7 separate regions of the Homo sapiens genome follow, and regions 1, 3, 4, 5, 6 and 7 are each linked to region 2. Evidence: promoter capture Hi-C in 16 types of primary human blood cells and fetal thymus (Javierre and others, 2016). All regions are on one chromosome and are shown on one strand. The core of a region is centred on a gene start or on the middle of the fragment in contact, and the rest is flanking DNA. Distances in the headings are between cores, read along the strand shown.

Region 1 (2,700 bases), core at 16-2,515, 1.3 Mb after region 2:
TTGGGTTCTGTCCCTTGTGACCAAAGGAGTCTTGAGCCATGCATGGCCACATAGCTAATAAGGGGCTGCTGGTTGCACAGGCAGCATCTGGAGAAGGCTGGAGTCCAGCCCTGCACTTGCACATCACACAAATTACCACGAGCAGGTCAGTGGTCATGGCCATGGGAAAAAAAACTAGAAACGAGTGAGTTGGCTATGTTTCAATACCTGCTAGCGGAAAAACACAATGATTTCCTTTATGTTTTTCAGGGTTTGAGTCATCCAGGTCAGTCCTGGCTTGGCACATTAACTTATTGTTCCTGCCAAGGGAGATGGTTAAGATGGGAGGGTTGATTTATTTGAGTACACATGTGTCCACATCATCCTGGAAAAAAAGTAAAATGCAGATATGCTTTGCTGGCATGTGTTGTGACCCAAGAGGCCTCTTCTTGGCCTCAAAGACCAAAAGCCACGATGTTAGACATTGTTTCAGTCTTGAACTTGACCAAGCATGGGCAGGCACCTGGTATGATGGTGACATAAGGGCCCTGGGAGAGGAGAGTCCTCTCCCCACACGGTGGACAGGGTAGGAGGATTACTTTCTATTGAATAGTCTGAGACAAGAGTGGTGAGAAGGAGCCAGTTATTTGAAGAACCTAGGAAGGAGAGCAAAGCAGGTGCTAAGGAGGTGTGAGGAATGGTGGGAAGGCTAGTGTGGCTGAAAAGGGGTGAGCGAGGGGGACAGAGAACTGCCCTAATCTCTCCACCCATTTTGAGTCTTGACTGTCTGGTATTCTCTAGCACTTAATATAGTTAATCTCACCTTTTGTGCATTAATCCATCCAGTCATCCATTCCGCAAACATTTATCACACCTGACAGTGTAGGGGGTGCTGTCTTCAATGAAGGGTTCACCAAGCAGAAGGGGCAAGACACATCCCCCGCCACTACCCCCACCAGGCAGAGAAAGGCCTGTGAGCCAAGTCCTGGAAAGAAAAAAGCTCACCATTTAGGTGGGGCCTGTTGGGCAGGGCTTTGAATGCCCAGGGGGCACTCCGCCATGTGGAAAGTGTAGAAAACCTAAATGCAGAACTCCAGGAAATACTGATCTATGGGAAAAAAATTGTACTGAAATCCATGATTCTGGAATAAATCAGATCTAGTCTTATACTATATTCTAATACAGCCAAGTGGTGGCAGGGACTGAAGGTTTAAGAGAAAGCGAGAAGAGAAACACTTAAGATGGAGACTACTCCATTAATTAGCTTCATTTTTTTTTTTCTGACAACCAAGAAAAGTCCATCATTAGTTAATATTAGTGATGCCCAGCTTGGTTCAACTTAGAGCACCTGTTTTCTGCTGAGCGTCATTTGAGATCGGCTGGCATGGGCCAGAGGGAGCTGTTTCAGGGCCTCAATCAGGCAGTGACATGATCAGATTTATGCTTTGGAAAGGTCACTGTGGCTGCAGGATGAGGAGGGAAGAGACGGGTGGTTGTTAGCAGGCTGCTGGGAAAATGTACACGATGAGAACCAGAATTTGGGTAGAGACAGTGGAGATGCAAATTCCCTGAAGGCAAGAGTTTTGCTGTTTCATTCTTTCAGCAGTGCCTGGCAAGAGATAGGCACAGCCACTGGTAGATTTTTAGAAATGCCTACTGTATTGAATTGTCTGGTATTAAAAGCTACGGGACTCCAGACAAAACAAAAGTGTTGCCTCTCTCCAGAGTCTCCCTTCTTGGGAGAGGCATCATAGCTGAAGACAGACCCAGATAGGGAGTTTTCTGTTGTTGGAAATACTCAAGGTTTTGAGGAACTATTTGGGGACACAGAACACACAACTCCTGTTACCCGAACCTGGCCCGAATCTGTCTGTCAGATCTGTGCAGACGAGACATATGTTAGGCCTGGGGGCTTTTGCTGCTTGATAAGCAAACAACCATCTGTCTTTCTATAGGTGGGAGAAAGACCAATGTTAAAAGGTGTCTTTGAGATGGTTTAGCCCCCTCTTCCACATGAGTGTGCACTGCAGACACATCTGGATTCCCAAGGTCCAGAACAAGAAGCTCGGAAACGTGCTTAGATTTCCAAGTGTTCAGTTCTCAATACCATGCCATTCTCTTTGGAGTTTATGATGCCTTCCAGGGAGAGCAGAGCCCACGTGAGCTTTCCAACAGTAAGACTACTGCTGTAATAAATCATATTGCCCATTTGTGGCGCACTTACTCTATGCTGAGGTTGTATAAGGGCTTACATGAGCCCTATCTCATTTAAATTGTTTTCACCAAAGGGTGTGTGTCCCACTGCTGACCTGTTGAGCTAACCATCCCCTCTCAGTACTTGAAAACCTGCACCTGCCCAAGCCATGGCCTGGCTTCAATGGGGCTTCCTCCTGCACTGAATGAGATGACAAGAAAACAATGAAACACTTGTCCCCAAAAGTGACTTATTGGATTCGTTGGCAGAATGTTAGAAAGTGGGTATGAAGCCCAAGAAACAGGACACGGAGCCTCACCAAGCCCGAGGAGTATTACCGAATCCTAGCCCAGGCCAAGAATGAGTCACAATGAAAGCTTTTAAAATGTAAAACCATCAACCTAGATTTCAATTCCAAGGAAACACATACTTGGCCATGGGGGAATGCTTTAAAAAAAAAAAAAAATCAAGCTTAAGTCACTTGACAGGAAAATAAAACAGCCAAGGAACATTCAAATATAATGATT
Region 2 (2,700 bases), core at 97-2,596:
TCAAGGCTGCCGCGTGGAGCGTGGGCCGTGGAGTGGGGGAGGGGGCGGGCAGACTCCTCCCCGCCGGCAGCCAGGGCAGAGGGCTGGAGGAAACGCGGAGAACTCCTCGGTGCTGGAGGAAACGAGGGGAACTCCTCGCCGGCCTTGCGGTCCCCCACAGCCCACGGAGTGCCACTCCCAGTCCCCACAGACCCCACCTGCGTCGCCCTGTGCTGAGAGGAGGCCGCAGGGCTGGGGCCGGGAGTGACCCCAATTAGAGCTGCTGTTTCCCAGCTGCATAGGTCCCAACCGCGGGGGCTGGAGATGAGGCGGGCTTGAGGCCCCTAGTCCCGGCTTCAGAGGTGGAGGGTGTGACCCGCAGGTCCGGGATCCCGGGGTCTGTGCAGTCACACGGCCCTTCCCTTCGCTCAGGAAAGCCCGGGGCTGAGTTTCATGCTCAACCGCTGCCAACTTGAAATTCCTAGCTTTTGAATAAGGGGCCCCGCGTTTGCATTTTGCACTGGGCCCCGAAAATTCTGTGGCTGGCCCTGCCTGGTGTGAAGCTCACAGAGCCCCACTATGCGCCGCCTTTCTATGGCTGGGGGCCGGATGAGGGACCCGGGTCTGCTCTTACTCGCCCCAAGGGTCCCTGACACCAGCCCAGAACGGGGTGGAGCTGGAAAGAGCCCACACCTGCTTCCTCTGCCCACCTCATCTCCCGCGGGGCCTCTGAGACCGCCCGGGACCCGCTTCTATCGCGGCACCGTGGTGTAGCTCCCTCCGGGGTCGTATGCTGTATGTTTACTAGCCGAATTCTCAGTCCTGGACGCTCCGTGGGGCCAGGGAATATGATCTGTGCTCCGCTGCAGCCTCGCGCCCAGAGTAAATATCGGTCGGATGAACTAATCTTACATATAAAACAGAAATCATTTCCCTTTTTTAATATGGCACGTGGCTCTTCCCTAAGTCGCCCTGGGTTAAATACCGACTCAATTAACAAGATGCTAAAAACCGTTTACGTTTTTTTACGTTTTTTACGTTTAATTCACCAGACGGTGCGCTCCACGAGGGAAGGGGCCTGGCCTCCCTAGTTCAGGGTTGTGCTTAGTGCCTGCAACCGGCCGGGCCCGCGGGGGCAGCCAGGAGAGAAAGGCGCGCCCAGCGCCCCCAGGCCCGGATCCGCCCTCAGCCCGCGTGCGCTCCCCTCCCCCCTCCCCCCAATCGCCGCGCGCCCGGGTGCGGCTGGGCGGGGTTAGAACTACGCTTCCCGGCGGTCCCCGCGCGCCCGGGGCGGGGCGGGGCCGGCTGGGGGCGGGGCTGAGCTGGCGGGGGCGGCAGGCTACAAAGCCCGGGGGCGGTGCCGGGGCGCAGAGTCCCCGCAGCGCCGGTCGGGAGCGCAGCGCGGCGCACGTCGGCGCGCACGGCGGGACGGGCGCCGGAGTGGTCGGGCCTGGCGGCTGGACGGGCGCCCCTCGCTGCCCCGCGCGCTCCCCGCCGCCCCCCATGAGCGCAGCCCCGCGCGGCCCGGGTCCGTAGGCGGCGGGGCGCCCCCCATGCTGCTGCAGCCCGCGCCGTGCGCCCCGAGCGCGGGCTTCCCGCGGCCCCTGGCCGCCCCCGGCGCCATGCACGGCTCGCAGAAGGACACCACGTTCACCAAGATCTTCGTGGGCGGCCTGCCGTACCACACTACCGACGCCTCGCTCAGGAAGTACTTCGAGGGCTTCGGCGACATCGAGGAGGCCGTGGTCATCACCGACCGCCAGACGGGCAAGTCCCGCGGCTACGGCTTCGTAAGTGGCCCCCGCGCCCGGGCCCGCACCCCGCCGCACACCTTATCGCGGCCCGGGCGCCGAGTCCACTCCGGGGCACACGCCCAGACGGCCCGCTGCCGCCCCCGCCCCAGGCGCCTCCAGCCGGCGCCCGCACCTGCCGCCTCTCCCGGGCGCGCTCCTGCCGGTCCCGCCCCCACCACCCCAGGCCCCGGCCCCCACCCCCACCCCCACCCCCACCCCCACCCCCGGTTTAAAAGGAAGAGCCGCTGTGTTCAATTAGGACTCCTAAGTTGGTGGGGAGGTTTTGGAGCCAGAGGGCACTCGGGATTTCCTGGAGCAGCGGGGGGTGAGGAGCAATGGCTCCACCCCGGGGTGTTAGGAGCTCTTCGGCCTCCCCCATATTTTTAACAGCCCTCTCAGCCGCCCCAAATAAACATCAGCTTAAGTAAAAACGTCTTGAAGACACTTTCCTGCTTACCTTCCAAGCATAGCGTCGCAAACTCCTTCTCAGAGGAAAGTCTCGGCCCTCACTGGTGGGCAAGTCCAGGCGGCCCCCCAAGCTCCCTTCGGGGTTCATTTTTGCCCTATCCCCGCAGGGGATTATTTTTGTCCTTGAAGGCCACATTTCCCAGGCCTTGAACTTTGACGGGAGGAGCTGGAATCCAGGAGGCATCTTTGTGGGAGAGCCCCAGGTAGGGTTCAGAGGAGCTTTGGCTCAAGGACCCTGGGTCACAGGCACCCTCAGAGGAAGGGAAGAGAGGGGTGGCAGCATCCGGTGCCAGGGCGGAGCCGTCTGCCCCTTTCGCCCCTGGTTCCCCCCACGGCAGCCCCTGATGTGTCTCTGCTCCACCAGGTGACCATGGCCGACCGGGCGGCAGCTGAGAGGGCTTGCAAAGACCCGAACCCCATCATCGACGGCCGCAAGGCCAACGTGAACCTGGCATATCTG
Region 3 (2,700 bases), core at 46-2,545, 1.8 Mb after region 2:
ACACACGTGGAAGGAGTCAGACCTCCCTGGAAGAGATGTGATTTGCCCACTGGATAGCAGAGGAGTTGGCTGGCTTAGCAAGACTGAAGCTTATCTGGAGTTGCTGGGCAAACAATGGGCAACTTTCTGGAGTACAGGTGGGAGGTGGCAGGCAATCTACAACCAGAGACGTGGGTGTGTTATGGGAGTCTGGCACTAGTGGGACAGAAGTCTCCAGAGCTCCCAGAAAGACAGTGTGCCGGCTGTGTGGTTGCAGAAGGAGCAGATCCATGTGAACCCCCCAGCCACAGGCAGGCTGTGCAACAGCTTTGGTTTTTATGTTGTGGGGGCTGCAGACAGATTACTGCTGGGCTGAGGCTGCAAGGTTGCAGAGGGAGTGAGTCCTGGGGCCTGTGGCTGGGAGGGGGAACTCCATGGCATGTCCTCATACCCACACCACTGGCCCTCTCGTGGGCCCCTCCTGGAAACTGCAGGAAGCCTCTTCCTCCTGCAATGACCCTCCAACATCCTCTGTTGGAAAAACTTAGCACTGTGTCCACTTTAAAGGAGAAAATCTTTAAAAGTTTGCATCCCTTATCATACAGCATGTATTGAATGGCATTTTTTGGAGCTGAGAGGCAATAAATTTCTATCTGGCACAGTCTATCCCTTTGCCTGTGCAGCCCCATGTGTACCCTTTACATGCATGTGAACTTTCTTACAACAGAATGGCTCTGTATTTCCACCTAACAAGATACATCCATGCTTCTAGCAAGTGAAGAGGTTCTCACTTGTTCGAAATGAGCAGATGCAGTCATTGTACTCAGCACAGGCTGTATCAATTGCTCTTCAAATTCAGTCAAGCTCTCACTGAATATTCTGTTCCCTAAAGCCTAAATTGTAAAGTTAACTTCCAATAACTCATATATAAAAATTTAAAACATGAAGTAGGAGAAAGAAGTAGAGAATGATTAGTAAAGATAAAATAAAACTCATTCATATAACACACATAGAGACCATACACAAACCCCCTCCAGTCCTCGTTTATATAATTGATCATGAAGTTGTAGTTCATATCTGTGACTTTCTTCTTCCACCACCCATTCCACATCTTCCTTGACCTCAGCTGCCCTGGGTTCTTTACCTCTTGGAATATCTACTAACTCCTGAAAAGTATGAGTATGTACTTTTCTCCCAAATTGCAGTTGTTCCACTATGTGGCAACAGGTCCCTTTGAGAAGGCATAAAGAAAGATTTACAGTGTATCCTTTTGGCAATAGTAGAGTGTCCTTTTCAAGGGGACCTGGCTTTCCCTTCAATCAAGGGCCTGTAGGTCTGCAAACTGCCTTAGTTCTGAAAACTGGGTAAAGGGCCGTGAGTCTCCATTTGATGACTGAGTCACGTTACTTGCCACCACACTTAGGACTTTTCCTATGATTTCCTATGATATCATAGTAGACTGACTGGTCTTTCCCTCCGAGGGACAACGTGATCAGTTAGTTACTGCTAAGATCTCTGCGAGCCAAAGAATTCGGATTCCTGCCATTCCCTGTTGCTCCCGTGGCACGCTCACCTTCTCTTTGGCAATGAAGTGATGCCACTTGGTCCTCTGCTATTCTGGGACCCCCCAACAACCACAGTGAAATGAGGGAGCCTGTCTCAATAGTGGTGTCCCCTACAGCTCTTCCTGGCCTGGAAAAAGAGCAACCACAGATCTTTTCGGGGATGCGGATGCTCCCCTCATTAATGCATTTCTCAGCGCCCTCCTGAAGAGGGGCCTTCTGGGTCTTCTTGAGGCATGCCGCTGGGAGAGTTGGAGGTTGCCTGTGATACACCCGGCCCAGCAGGCATATTTCCCATAGTCTTTAGAGCCCCTCCTCTGTGTCATGCCAGGGAAGCTCCAGCATTCCGGCCTCACTAAATGCAGGTCACCATCATTTCCAGATTTCAGTCAACCAACCTAGGAAGCTGTTAAAGCCACATCCAGCTGCACAACTAATACACTAAATTGAGACTCTCTGGTAAGTGCACTCCTGTCAATGAATTTGGTCCAATGGCTGGTGGTGTTTTCTGCCCTCCTTGGTATAAACCCACAGAATCCATTTGCACACACATGTTCCCTAGGATTCTGCTGACATATTAGCCAGGGCGTTCAGCTCTTCTGGTGTGTGAGCCATTTCCTTCTGGGTCATAGTGAGCACCTGTCTCCTTGGGCCATGCTGAGATTTGACTCAGTTAAATCTAGTTAAGTCTAGAGGGAGCAGGGGCTTGTTGTGGTGGGTTCTGAGAAGGATCAGTATTCCCTTTCAAGGCATCTACCCTAAGTGAAGGCATCATAAGGTTTTCCAGCTCAGGAAGTCTGGCCTCTGTGGACAGTGGAGGGGAAGCTGCTGCCACTTGTACGGGAGGCTCAGAATGACCTGGAGGTCAATGTTGTCAGTTTCTCTAGGTCCAACAAGATGTCCTCACCTCGAGTTTTAGGATCCCCTTTTTTCCTGATTAGTGCCCAAATTTTCACATGAGAAGCTTGGCATGACTGTGAATTCAACTGCCATTTTAATTCAGTAACTTGCACCATTAATTTTTTTGTTTGATTTTCAGCAACATCAGCCCTGTGGCTACAAAAATGAGACATTCTTTGAGGGCTGTCATGGAGGCTGTGTGATCCTCAGATCATGACTCAAGGTGGGAATTAATGGACCTGAGCTTGTCATTTTCTCT
Region 4 (2,700 bases), core at 91-2,590, 1.8 Mb after region 2:
GAAGGAGTAATCTCCTTGCTTATCGAGCATGTCTCTGGGTCGGAGGGGAGCTGAGTGGGGACATCGCTTCTGGAAGGTTTAGACCTTTCACCAAGAAGGAGAGGAAAAAGGAAGAACAACAAAGATGGAGAAAAGGGGGAAAAGAGGCCGTAATGTAATGTACATGTAGAAGAGAAGCAGACAAAAAGCTCCAAATTCTGTGCAGTCAGGGGATGAATCAGTTAGTAAAGATCTATTTTTAGTTTCCAAGATCTGCTGTTACATTTTGCCTGGCATTAATTAATGTCACAGGCATGTTCCATGCACAGGCTCTGAAGGGCCCTCGCGTGTCACTCTAGCTGGAGGTACCAGCCCTTCTTAATGGGAGCTCTCCAGTCCTTTGGGGTCTGGTCTCTGACACAAACATGTGTCCAGAATGTTCTGCTCTCTGACCTTGTCCCCTCTGGGTGTATCCGTTAATCTCCTCACTCTGGCCCTTGGATGTCTGGCCAGTGGCCAAGGGAGAATTGCAATTGTTATACTTTGTTTTTTAAAAGGAAAGGCTGTACAAGCTGAAATTGGGAAAAGGCAAAGATGTTGGATCATGGCTTAGAATTTAAAGAAAAGGCTTTGAGGGCAGCTCTCCTACCACAAGGAAGAATGAGGCCCCCCTCATCTCCAAACAAGGCTGATTTTGACTAATCAGATATCATAACTGGAGAACATCTTCCAATATAGTTTAGGCAAAGTGTAATATGTTAGCAAGAACTAATGATATGACTGGGGTTGATCAGATGTTGGCTGAAGTTGTGTGTGAGACTAATTATCTCCAAAAAACCTGTTCATATTTCAGAGGCGAGGCTGTAAATCTGAAGAGCAGCTGAAATGCAGGCATGATTGTACGCATGAAGCCTTGCTTTCTGAGGTGGTAAAAGGGGGGATTACAGGCCAGAATGAAAAACCCAAGGCCACGTGGCAGCACACTGTTGGGACAGCTGTTTTTGTACATTTGCACCAATTATTAGATCAATAAGAAAGTATGACTACATCATGGACCCTAATTAGAAGAGACGTCCCTTATACTCTCTGAAATGCTTGAGAATGTTCTCCTACTAACCTAGAGCCTGATGGGGCCATTGACGCTAATTGTTAAGTGCCGTTGGTCAAGGCCAATGCATAGTCTTCGTTTAGTTCCTAAGTCATTTGTGGTCGGCCCATCCAAGACAGGGACACGGACAATCTCATCAGAGTAGGCTGGGAGGGTTTCCATGATGGAATGGGGCTGGCCTCTCTGTTGAGGGGGGATATCCAAGGGGTGCACATGAGCTCTGAGGACCAGTGGCAAAGTCCCTGTTCAGTCCTTGGGAAGCATCACCACTGCTACATTTCTGATGTTCTGAAGATGGGTTAGAACAGAGCGGCCGGGCGCGGTGGCTCACGCCTGTAATCCCAGCACTTTGGGAGGCCGAGACGGGCAGATCACGAGGTCAGGAGATCGAGACCATCCTGGCTAACACGGTGAAACCCCGTCTCTACTAAAAATACAAAAATTAGCCGGGCATGGTGGCGCGCGCCTGTAGTCCCAGCTACACGGGAGGCTGAGGCAGGAGAATGGCGTGAACCCGGGAGGTGGAGCTTGCAGTGAGTCGAGATCGCGCCACTGCACTCCAGCCTGGGCGACAGAGCGAAACTCCGTCTCAAAAAAAAAAAAAAAAAAAAAAAAAAAAAAAAAAAAAAAAAAAAAGAACAGAGCGTGAGAGCAAGCAGGGTGCTGACTCTGGGTCTCATGTCTTGAGGCTCAATTCCATCCTGTCACCCAGCCAGGAGATTCAGAGGTCCTGCAGCCTCCTACCTCAGACCCACATACCTGGTGTGAGTTCTGCCCTCCTGACCACAACACCCCTGCACCTTGGACACAGCTTACCACATCCTTCCCCAGAGCATCTTGTGCCTTGGAGAGCAGGTGCAGTTGCAGCGTTCTGGGCTGCGGGCACTCGAGTTCAGCCCTGGCCAGAGGCTGTGAGGGGCAGAGCCAGGGGATGGTGTCTCCATTGGTAACGAGGGTCTCCATCCCTTCCAGGCTGGCCGTGTCTGTGGCCACAGATGAATAGGATGGGTGCCCATCTTGATGGGTCAGACAAGGTAAGGGCTCTCAGACCCCATCCTCTGTTTGAGATCAGACCAGAGGTGCCATCAGAAAATCAACTGAAGATTAACCAGCTTCCTCTGGTGCTCAAAACCTAGACTCCCTTTGCTGCTTTGCAATTTCTTTCTGTGTGTGGAGGTCTGATAAGCCAGACGAGATGAAGGGATGTTAATCCTTGGGCCCAGTCTCAATGGCAAACTTCCAATTAAAGAAGATGTGACTGTGGCCTGGGGCTGTGCCAAAGAAGGGCTTTGCTTATGTCTCTTTGTCTAATCTCTGTAATGGCCCCATGTGGTTGGCGCCTTCCCCAATACCATTTTATGGAGGAAGAAACGGAGTCTTATACATTTCATTTTACTTTTTGCATTGTATCTTAAAGATATAAAACTTTAACCTTATACTCCATAATATATCTATTGATCTTACTATAAAATAAGATCTCCCTCCTCCAAAAAAAATCGTGAAGGAAAAGGGTTCCCTCCTGAGTGAGCGCCAAAAGCCTGGGCTTGGCCTGTCGGAGAGAGAGGCTGCAGAGCCCCTGTATGGAGAGCAGACACCATCCACAGGGCCCCCAA
Region 5 (2,700 bases), core at 115-2,614, 1.7 Mb after region 2:
GTAATTCCCCAGGGGCGGTGACCCTCCACCTTTCACCATTCCGGAGCACAGCCTCCTTCACCAGCCTCAGGAAAGAAGCAGGCTCCTGCAGCAAAGTGGAAAGCTGCTCCTGCTTTCCTGGTCTAGGATCAGGACAGCTGAAAGTTCCAGGTTTTGTTTTTAGAAATAGTTTTGATCAAATCCTGAAATTTTCCAGGAGTTCACAGTTGGAAGAGGTTTCACCTGATAAGAAATCACTCCATTCCTCATGCTAAAGAAGTGACTGCTGATGCACTGTGGATTTTTGCTTCTCGGCGAGTGGTGGCTGGGGGAGGACTACAGAGTCATCTGTTGTTTTTGGATGTCTAGCACTCAGTGTCCCTTTTTCTGGTGACAGCATCTCTCTTTTCCCCTGGGGACCCATGGTATTCTCAATCTGTGAGGTTCAGGTGGACTGACCAACATGCATAGACGGAAGCTGTGCTACAGCTCACACCTGCGTCATCCCGAGGAGGAAGAGCACTTTCCAGAGGGAGCAGGGAGAGGTTTGAGAATTCTGAGGGTTCCATGTCATCTCTGCTAAGATTGCTTATTGGCTGTTGAGGCTCCATTCACATGTATGTAGTGCCTGAATATTTCCACAACAAATGTGGAAGGATGATGTGATAGATTGTTTGTAAAAATGGCCACGATTCTCCATCCCTCCTCTCTCATTCTCTTTGCAATGTGACCTTTCTGCCATCCTCCCCACCCCCATCAAGAAGTGAGGTCCACTTCTTTACCCCTTGAATCTAGCCTGGCTTGGGGCTTGCTTTGGCCAATGGAATATGGTGGAAGAGATGCTGAGCTTGTCCCAAGCCCAGGCCTCAAGCGCCCTTGTGGCTTCTGTCTGCTCACACTCTCCCTCCCTTGTCCCTGCCTCAGCAGCCTACTGCCTCTGTGTGGAAAAGCCTGGTATAGCTTAGTGAAGAATGGGGACCATGTGGAGGAGAGCCCGATTGTCCTGGATGAGTCCCTCCTGATCCAGCCTACAGCCAGATGCCCCCCAAACACGTGATGGAGCTCAGTCAGGTGAGCATGAGCAAGCCCAGCTGAGACCAGAAGAACCACCCAGCTGACCTCTACAGCAATGATAAATACTTTTCAGATTAAGCCACTAACTTCTGGGGTTATTTGTTACACAGCAAAAGCTAACTGTTACAGACGTCATCAGTTAGGCTTATTAGGTACTAAATTGGTAGCTGTGGTAAAAAATTGTCTAAACATAATTTAACTCCACACATCCCAGGAAGCTTTGGAAGGTCACTGACTTTGAAAGCGCAAGGTATTCTTGTTGCCATGGATACCCCCATTGAGACATTAGAGTGCAAAGAGAGAAACCTAGTGTTGCCTTGACAACAGGTTTGCAAATCCGAGTCTGGTAAAGCAAAAGACTACAAAGAACAGGAAGAATCAGGAGGAGGGGGAAATTAGCCTAAAGAAGCTTCCCTTCTCCCAGCAAAACAACAACTTGCCTCCATGCAGTTTGAGAGTCTGTTAGAAGAAGCACTGCCTGAATGGGGAGCTATAAAGTGAACAACAGGAAGCCCTTCTCTTTTCATGGCCCATCTCCACAGCAGGAGAAAAGTCTCACAGCCAGGGAGCAGCATGCGGCACTGTCACTAAGTGCCTCCTTCAAGAGTTCACAATTTGCTCTCAGCCAAGCTTCATTCCAAGAATGAGAGTTTGCTCAAGCTGGAAGGGGTCTGAACAGCATCGAGTCCCTTACTCATCCTCTCCATCAGCTGGGAGGGAAGCTGAGGTCCTGAGAGGGAAGAGGGCTGCTCGCAGTCAGTCTAATGTGCCATTAGGATTTTAGTCTAGTCTAGTGGGTAAGCATTCAGGGCCCGGAGTCAGACAGACCTGAGTACAAGTCCTAGTGACACCATTTACTAGCTGTGTGACATTCTGCAAACCAGCTGACCTCGTAAACTCTTTCTGTAAGATGAGGATCTCACTAATGTCAGCCTCAGAGGGTGGTGAGAACTCAGTGAACTAATGCATGAGAAGCACTTACACAGTGTCTAACCTGCAATGAGCTTGCAATAAATTGCGTGTTATTCTTTCTACTATGATCATGTCACTCTGCCTCTACTCTTCAGACTCATTGAAGTAGTACCAAGGAGGCTCAACTGGATCCAGAATCTCCCTCGGGAGGCTTGGTGGTCCATTTTCAGATGCCCTGTGTCATTTTCTGTATCATACAATTGGATGTCACAGTTTCTAATTTTCAAAGCCATTGCATTTTCTATTTCCTCTTCCCTACAGCTTGGCTGGGCAGGCAGGTGGGGCAACACTAGCTTCATTTTTTTTTTTTTCACTTTGTCAGGGAGGAAATTGAACCCCGGGGAGGTTTGACGATCTGCCCAAAGTCCCTGGGAAGTTTCCGGCCGTTCTAGGGCTAAAGCTCAGCTCTCTCGACTGCATCTCCTTCCCACCCCCATGTGGCTACCCCCATAGAATGGCGCATCCACGTAGATGGCCCAGATGTTGGGTTTAAGGGAGAGAGAGAAAGGAAGTTTGGGGCATCTGTTTATGAGAGAAAATCGTCAGCCGTGCGTGGAAATCTTATGCATAGCAAATAAATGATGGGCAAATACCCACTTGCATATTCAGAGGCACATTTCAGATGTGAACATCCTGTCTCACCAAAACAACCCCAGCTAAGAAGTTCCGTCGGGG
Region 6 (2,700 bases), core at 193-2,692, 1.7 Mb after region 2:
CAACCCTGAGTGCTGTCAAGGGCTTCGTGCTCCGCGACGCCCCCAGGACCTCAGGAGGCCGCCGGCCCGAGGCTACCTCATGGTGGGGGACAGCCCGGAAGTGACCCCGTAGCCCTGCCGGTCGCAAGGCCGCCTGGGTCTGGAGGTCGGAGCCGTCCCCTCGGCTAGGGCGCCTCGGGGTCGTGACCTTGGTCTGCCCTCCGTGTCGCCGGGGCCCGCAGGCTTCAGAGTTCGCTCCCCTCGCTAGGCCCGACGCCTAGAAGCCTCCTGCGGGCCGCCTCTGCCTCGCCTCTACTCCAGGGCCGGCGTGCCTGCCCTCCACGGAGCCGACCCGCGCCCCAAACTTACTCAAAGACGTGCTCCGAAGTCCAGATCTTCATGGTGCCGGCACCCTGAGAGATGTCCGGGTAGCGCCAGGGGACAACGAGGCACAGAGGCTACACCTGCCCCTGCCCCGCCCCCAGCACCCCAGCCGGCGGCGCAGTGCGCAGGCGCTGTCGGGCCCGACGCGAGGGACGTCCAGACGCGCGGCCCCACGCCCTATCCCGGCCCGGGTTTTGCCCCAGCCTTGCGCGCGGCGCAAGGAAACCCCGCCTCTTAGCGCCGGGCGCATCGCGCCGGCGCAGTGCCGCCGACGGCAGCTGGAGGGGCCGGCGCGGGCGCTGTGCTGCGCAGGCGCGGCGGGCTTGTAGCGAGCCTTGACCTCTGGGCAGAGTTGGGTCAGGTCCAGGAGGTGCCTGCGCGCCCGCTTGGCCCTCCTTGTCCTTCTGGCCCAGCACATCCTCGCCTGGCATTTCGAGGCGTGTGGACGCATGCGGTCAGCCTGCTGACATAGATGTTCGTTGTGGTGGTCACTTGTGCAAAATTTCCTGGTGCCCTATAGAGAGTTCCAGCCACCTCCTGGGTCAGCCCGGGCTGTTTTCCCAAATCCACCAGCCACCCAGCCGATCAGCTGGGCCAGTCCCACCTGCCCGCCAGGAGCTTGCAGCCCTCGGAGGGGATAAATAAGGCGTGACGCGGAGAAGCTAACATCAGACCTGCCCATGAATAATACCCCTACGAGGGATGCGGTCCGGAAGCACGGTGCCAGGGGTCGGGTAGAAAAGCTTCCTGGCCGGGCACACCTTGCCCTAGGTGCATAGGATGGATCTGAGCTGAGATGTCTCTCCCAGAGAGACTTCCCTCGTCACCGTTTCTCACCTTGTTGCTCTGCTCCGTCACAATATCCTGTTGCATTTTTTATAGCACTTACCCCTCTGACATCATCTTGTTAATTTATTTGTGAAAATTCACAATCGAACTGAGTTCTTGAAGGCAAGAATCTTGCCGGTCTTGCTCAAAAATCATCCTCAGTGTCTCCCATATAGTCAAGGCTCAATGACTACTTATTGAAAAATGAAAAAAATCAATAGCTATTTGTGGGATGAATGAATTAATGGAGTCATCTAGTTTATTTGTTGTAACTTCCGCTAGACTGTAAGCCCCTGAGGGCGAGGCTCTTGCCAGACTTGTTCAGTGATTTCCCCCTTCCTAAATGACAATTATTTGTTGCATCAATGGATGAAAGAATGACTAAGAATTGCTGGGGCAGGAGGAGGTGGCATGTGGTTTCATTCAGAGATGAGCCTTGTCCAGGGAACAGACTGCCTGGCTTAGCTTTCAGAATATGGCTTCCCACCCTGCTCTCCTGCACTCTCCACAGCCGTCTACCTCCTAACAGAACAATTTGCCATTTTCAATGAAGGTTATGGAGGAAAATCTTTACATCTAGTTACTTAGAAGCTTGTTAGAAGGACCACCTCATTCTTGTTCTTAGCTTGTTTGATTGTTAAAGACAAAAAGCCAGGTTAATTTAGGAGGGAGGATAATTTTTCAAAATAACATAAGTCCTTTATACAGGAAAACAAAAATTACATTAGACAGGAAGGAAATAATATGGTTGGGTAGTTGCTAAGTGCAATTTGTGGTACCTGAGATTTTCTTTTTTTAAACCTACAGTACTTAAGAGTGATTTCTTGGGGAGGTAATGCTTTAAGGGCTACTGAGAGTACCTCAGCCTTGACTAAGATGCAGTTAACGTCGCTGGGTGTTAAAAACACTGGTTCAAGAACCATCAGCACAGAACAGCCTGTCCCTGCTATTCCTGGAGTTCCATGAGGCTGTTCACCATTCAGCATTCCTGTTCTGTTTATTTTAGAGAACATTATTCTGCTCTCAAGTTCAAAATTTCTGTGTTTTAGTCATGAAAATTAAATGACACCTATCTCCCGTGCCCCCAACACACATACTATATCAGTCTAATTTTACTTACTAGATCTAGAGTGGTGGGATGGGGCATGGAAAGATGGAGATCCAGGACCCAATTGTCTTCTCTGCGTGTCTCCTCATGGTAGAAATAATACCACCTCTTGCTTGGATTTGGAGGGTAAGACTTACATAATGATTATCTCCTGGAGACTCTGTTAGGAGACACAGAGGAAGCAAATTAATGGTTTTTAGATACCTAAGCACTGCATTACTTGACAGTGCCTCTCACAGAAACAGAGAAGTCATTAACAACAGATCATTACTTTGATTTGAAATTAACTAGGTGACTGGTAGTTATGGCCCTTGCCCCAGGGATGACACACATCTCCACACCCTTCCTGCTGGGATCTCCTGTTGGGATCTTGCCGAGCTCCGTGTCTGGGATGAGAATGC
Region 7 (2,700 bases), core at 36-2,535, 1.6 Mb after region 2:
GGTCTGTCCCCGGCGGAAGTAGAGGCCGCCCTGCGCCGCGCCCGCCAGCAGCACGAGCAGCAGAAGCGGCCGCCACCCTGGCCCGCGCCTCGCCATGGCCCCGCGCCGGCTCCTGGGTCCCGCTCCGGATCCCGCTCCGAGTCCCAGATCCCGCGCCGGCTCCCGCTCTGGATCCCGCCCCGGCCTCGGCCTCGGCCCAGCACCCGGCCGACCCCGCACTTTGGGCCCCTGCCCCGCCCGGCCCTTAAGGCTGCGGCGGCCAGGCCGGGACACTCCCCCGGGGCGGGGCTGTCCCATCGCTGCTCCTGCCCCGCCCGGTGACCCCTGCCCTCCCCGCCCGGCTCCGCGCCCCGCTCCCTCCCTGGCTCCGGGGCACCTGAACTCGCGGGCCAGGCGCGAGGTCGCCGGGCAGACCCCAGCCTGACCCCGCCGCCGGCCGCCGCCCTGAGCGCGGGACTGTCCGGCTGGACTCATTTGCCGGGGTTCCTGGCTTCGGGGTGGGGGGCCGCAGGCTCATGGGCCCCCTTGGCCCTGCATTCCTGGGGCCCTGAGCCCTGGGGAGAGGCCCCCAGCCTCACATCTGGGCCCAGGCCTCCCCTAGGAAGGGATCCTGGGATGCGGCCACCGCCCCCAAAGAAGGGTCCCCGCGCCTGGCTTTCTAAACCCCTTTTCCCAAAGGCCCAGGCCCTTTCGGGGGGACGGTTCCCTTTTGCAGAGAAGGAAGGAGGGATCCTTCTAGAAAATGCCCCAAAGGAAGATTCCACTTGGCGCAGGCATCAGGAGTTATCCAATGTGACTTCCAAAGACGCCTTGAAAAGGTTTTCTGCTAACGAAACTCTTCTTAGTCAAATGAGGAACCAAAAGCAGAAGTGGCCCCCCAGGACGTGGTTTTGTAACTGGGGGAGGGCTTCTCGCTCCCTGCGGCCCCTCTGTTTGTCATGGCCCTTGGGCCCACACCATGGCCTTCTTCTCTGGTAAGAACAGGGCCCGGCATTCTGGGCTGCGACCTGACAGGCCCCTGCTGGGGGCCCTTGGCACAGGGCCCACAGATGAGCTTGCCTGACTCTCTCCATACTCAGTGGCACTCACCACATTCCAAGCGTGCCACGTGGGCAAGGGGAAGTCACAGTGGCTGCCTCCTGACTTCCAGAAGCTTCCATGACCATTCCCGGAAGCGCTGAGGTGGCCATGGAATCCCCGCATGACTGTCCGAGTGGAGAGCAAGGCTGGAGAGCTGCTTCGTCAGCCCAGAAGTTTCAGTCCTTGTTCCCCAAAAAGTGGTCACTGAGGCAAAGTGTGGCCCCGGGGCTCTACCTACTGATGTGTCTCTTATTTGTTTGGCAAGTCGCTCATGGAAACCATTAGTGTCCATCAGTCATCAGAAGGCGGGGTGGGGTGGCCATCCTGGGAGAAGTCCCCAAGCTTGAGCTGGCGGTGGGGGTGGGAGCGAGGCCTCCCAACCTCTGGGCATAAAAGGAGTGGAAAGAGAATTGCCAAGAGGGGGCCTTTCTTCCTCCCATGTCAACCCTCTGGCCTCCCTGACTATAGGAGCTGGGTCCTTGTGAGGAAGAAACCCAGACACAGCTGCCCTTGCCAGGTCATCAGGTGGCATCTACCAAAGCGGCCGGTTTTTGGCTTCTTCTAAAGAAAAAGCTAAGAACTCACAAAATTGTGTGGTAAGAGATATCGTGCCCCTCCCTCCAGGTACCCATAGTTATGATCCAGGTACTGTGAAGTCCAACAGCACATTCTACAGCATGAGAAACAAGCCTGGAGAGGGGAGGGCCCCTTGTGCTTGGCCTCTGATGCCTGAGCTGTGATGTCCTGGGCCCTGGTCCCTGAATCTGGGTGAAAAGGCACCCAAGGTGTAAGCTTTTCTTTCCTGTAGCATGGGGAGAGCTGGGGTGCTCTGAAGATGCCCCGAGACTCTCCGAGCAGGTCCAGCGCATGTAGAAGGTATGACAGGCATGGTCAGCAAGGCAGGCACACGACCCCTGCAGTCACATGAGGCCCTAAGTCCAGAAGTGTAATGCAGAGCTGAACGAGGGGCTCTCCAGGTTCACTGTGCCCTGGGCCCTGCAAATTATGTAGCTGGGTCTGATGACAGCAACCACACCTGCTCCATCACAAGTCCTGTACATCACCCGCTTTCAGCCCAGAGCCTCTGGCAAATCAAACTCACAAACAGGGGTCAGGAGGAGGGGTGAGATGGTCAGGAAGGGGAATAAACATTCACAGTCCTGCTCCCAAATGCTGGCACAAAGCTTAATTTATCTGGGGAGTTCCAAAGAGGAGACTCTCCGGATTTACCCTATTGAAAGTTGGTTAAAGGGAAGGATATTTTTAGGCTGGTAACAAAAAGGACGTCCAAAGTTGACAACTTGTGCCCCCTGGGTTTCCCTAACATAGAAGCAATTCAAGATCAGAATCTGATGGAATAGGGCAGGAAGAGAGGGAGGGAGCCTATCCATTTGAAATCATCATTTACTTTTTCTTTTCTTTTTTTTTTTTTGGAGACAGAGTCTCGCTCTGTCACCTGGGCTGGAGTGCAATGGAGCAATATCGGCTCACTGCAACCTCCACCTCCTGGGTTCACGCAATTCTCCTGCCTCAGCCTCCTGAGTAGCTGGGATTACAGGCACACACCATCACACCTGGCTAAGTTTTTGTATTTTTAGTAGAGATAGGGTTTCACTACGT

The links. Contacts are between HindIII fragments. The CHiCAGO score rates a contact against its expected background, and 5 or more counts as called.
Region 1: a fragment that was not itself captured here is called in contact with the fragment with the promoter of RBM38 in region 2 in 3 of 17 cell types (fetal thymus, naive CD4 T cells and activated CD4 T cells); the score reaches 7.5 in fetal thymus.
Region 3: a fragment that was not itself captured here is called in contact with the fragment with the promoter of RBM38 in region 2 in 2 of 17 cell types (naive CD8 T cells and non-activated CD4 T cells); the score reaches 5.2 in naive CD8 T cells.
Region 4: a fragment that was not itself captured here is called in contact with the fragment with the promoter of RBM38 in region 2 in 2 of 17 cell types (naive CD8 T cells and non-activated CD4 T cells); the score reaches 8.3 in naive CD8 T cells.
Region 5: a contact is called between a fragment that was not itself captured here and the fragment with the promoter of RBM38 in region 2, in 7 of 17 cell types (total B cells, total CD8 T cells, naive CD4 T cells and 4 more). The highest score is 12.3, in total B cells.
Region 6: a fragment that was not itself captured here is called in contact with the fragment with the promoter of RBM38 in region 2 in 3 of 17 cell types (total CD8 T cells, fetal thymus and naive CD4 T cells); the score reaches 5.7 in total CD8 T cells.
Region 7: a fragment that was not itself captured here is called in contact with the fragment with the promoter of RBM38 in region 2 in 1 of 17 cell types (total B cells); the score reaches 5.7 in total B cells.

Annotation. Positions count from the first base shown.
Region 1 is chr20:58,645,475-58,648,174 of GRCh38, forward strand. The region is part of intron 1 of LOC107985410 (a long non-coding RNA gene); the gene reads right to left. Among named protein-coding and RNA genes, the nearest start is that of STX16-NPEPL1, 4.4 kb to the right of the region's middle. RefSeq lists a silencer at 2,019-2,313. The HindIII fragment of the contact is 2,566 bases long and covers 1-2,548 here.
Region 2 is chr20:57,390,050-57,392,749 of GRCh38, forward strand. It overlaps RBM38 (RNA binding motif protein 38), which reads left to right and starts at 1,347. Exons shown (of 4, transcript NM_017495.6): 1 at 1,347-1,769; 2 at 2,605-2,700. The coding sequence starts at 1,533. It overlaps RBM38-AS1 (RBM38 antisense RNA 1), which reads right to left. Exons shown (of 2, transcript NR_149006.1): 1 at 2,230-2,700. RefSeq lists silencers at 1,030-1,429, 1,780-1,969 and enhancers at 1,064-1,565, 1,566-2,065. The HindIII fragment of the contact is 15,883 bases long and covers 1-2,700 here.
Region 3 is chr20:59,170,754-59,173,453 of GRCh38, forward strand. The region is part of intron 1 of ZNF831 (zinc finger protein 831); the gene reads left to right. Among named protein-coding and RNA genes, the nearest start is that of ZNF831, 8.3 kb to the left of the region's middle. The HindIII fragment of the contact is 2,416 bases long and covers 88-2,503 here.
Region 4 is chr20:59,147,002-59,149,701 of GRCh38, forward strand. It overlaps a transcript of ZNF831 not described here. Among named protein-coding and RNA genes, the nearest start is that of ZNF831, 15 kb to the right of the region's middle. The HindIII fragment of the contact is 8,698 bases long and covers 1-2,700 here.
Region 5 is chr20:59,120,743-59,123,442 of GRCh38, forward strand. It overlaps a transcript of ZNF831 not described here. Among named protein-coding and RNA genes, the nearest start is that of ZNF831, 42 kb to the right of the region's middle. RefSeq lists an enhancer at 1,285-1,834. The HindIII fragment of the contact is 191 bases long and covers 1,270-1,460 here.
Region 6 is chr20:59,042,351-59,045,050 of GRCh38, forward strand. PRELID3B (PRELI domain containing 3B) reads right to left here and starts at 436. Exons shown (of 6, transcript NM_016045.3): 1 at 349-436. The coding sequence starts at 380. It overlaps SLMO2-ATP5E (SLMO2-ATP5E readthrough), which reads right to left and starts at 496. Exons shown (of 6, transcript NR_037930.1): 1 at 349-496. RefSeq lists a silencer at 354-753. The HindIII fragment of the contact is 676 bases long and covers 1,105-1,780 here.
Region 7 is chr20:59,007,033-59,009,732 of GRCh38, forward strand. It overlaps CTSZ (cathepsin Z), which reads right to left and starts at 222. Exons shown (of 6, transcript NM_001336.4): 1 at 1-222. The coding sequence starts at 96. RefSeq lists enhancers at 1-285, 966-1,125, 1,146-1,255, 1,396-1,475 and a silencer at 1-505. The HindIII fragment of the contact is 269 bases long and covers 1,152-1,420 here.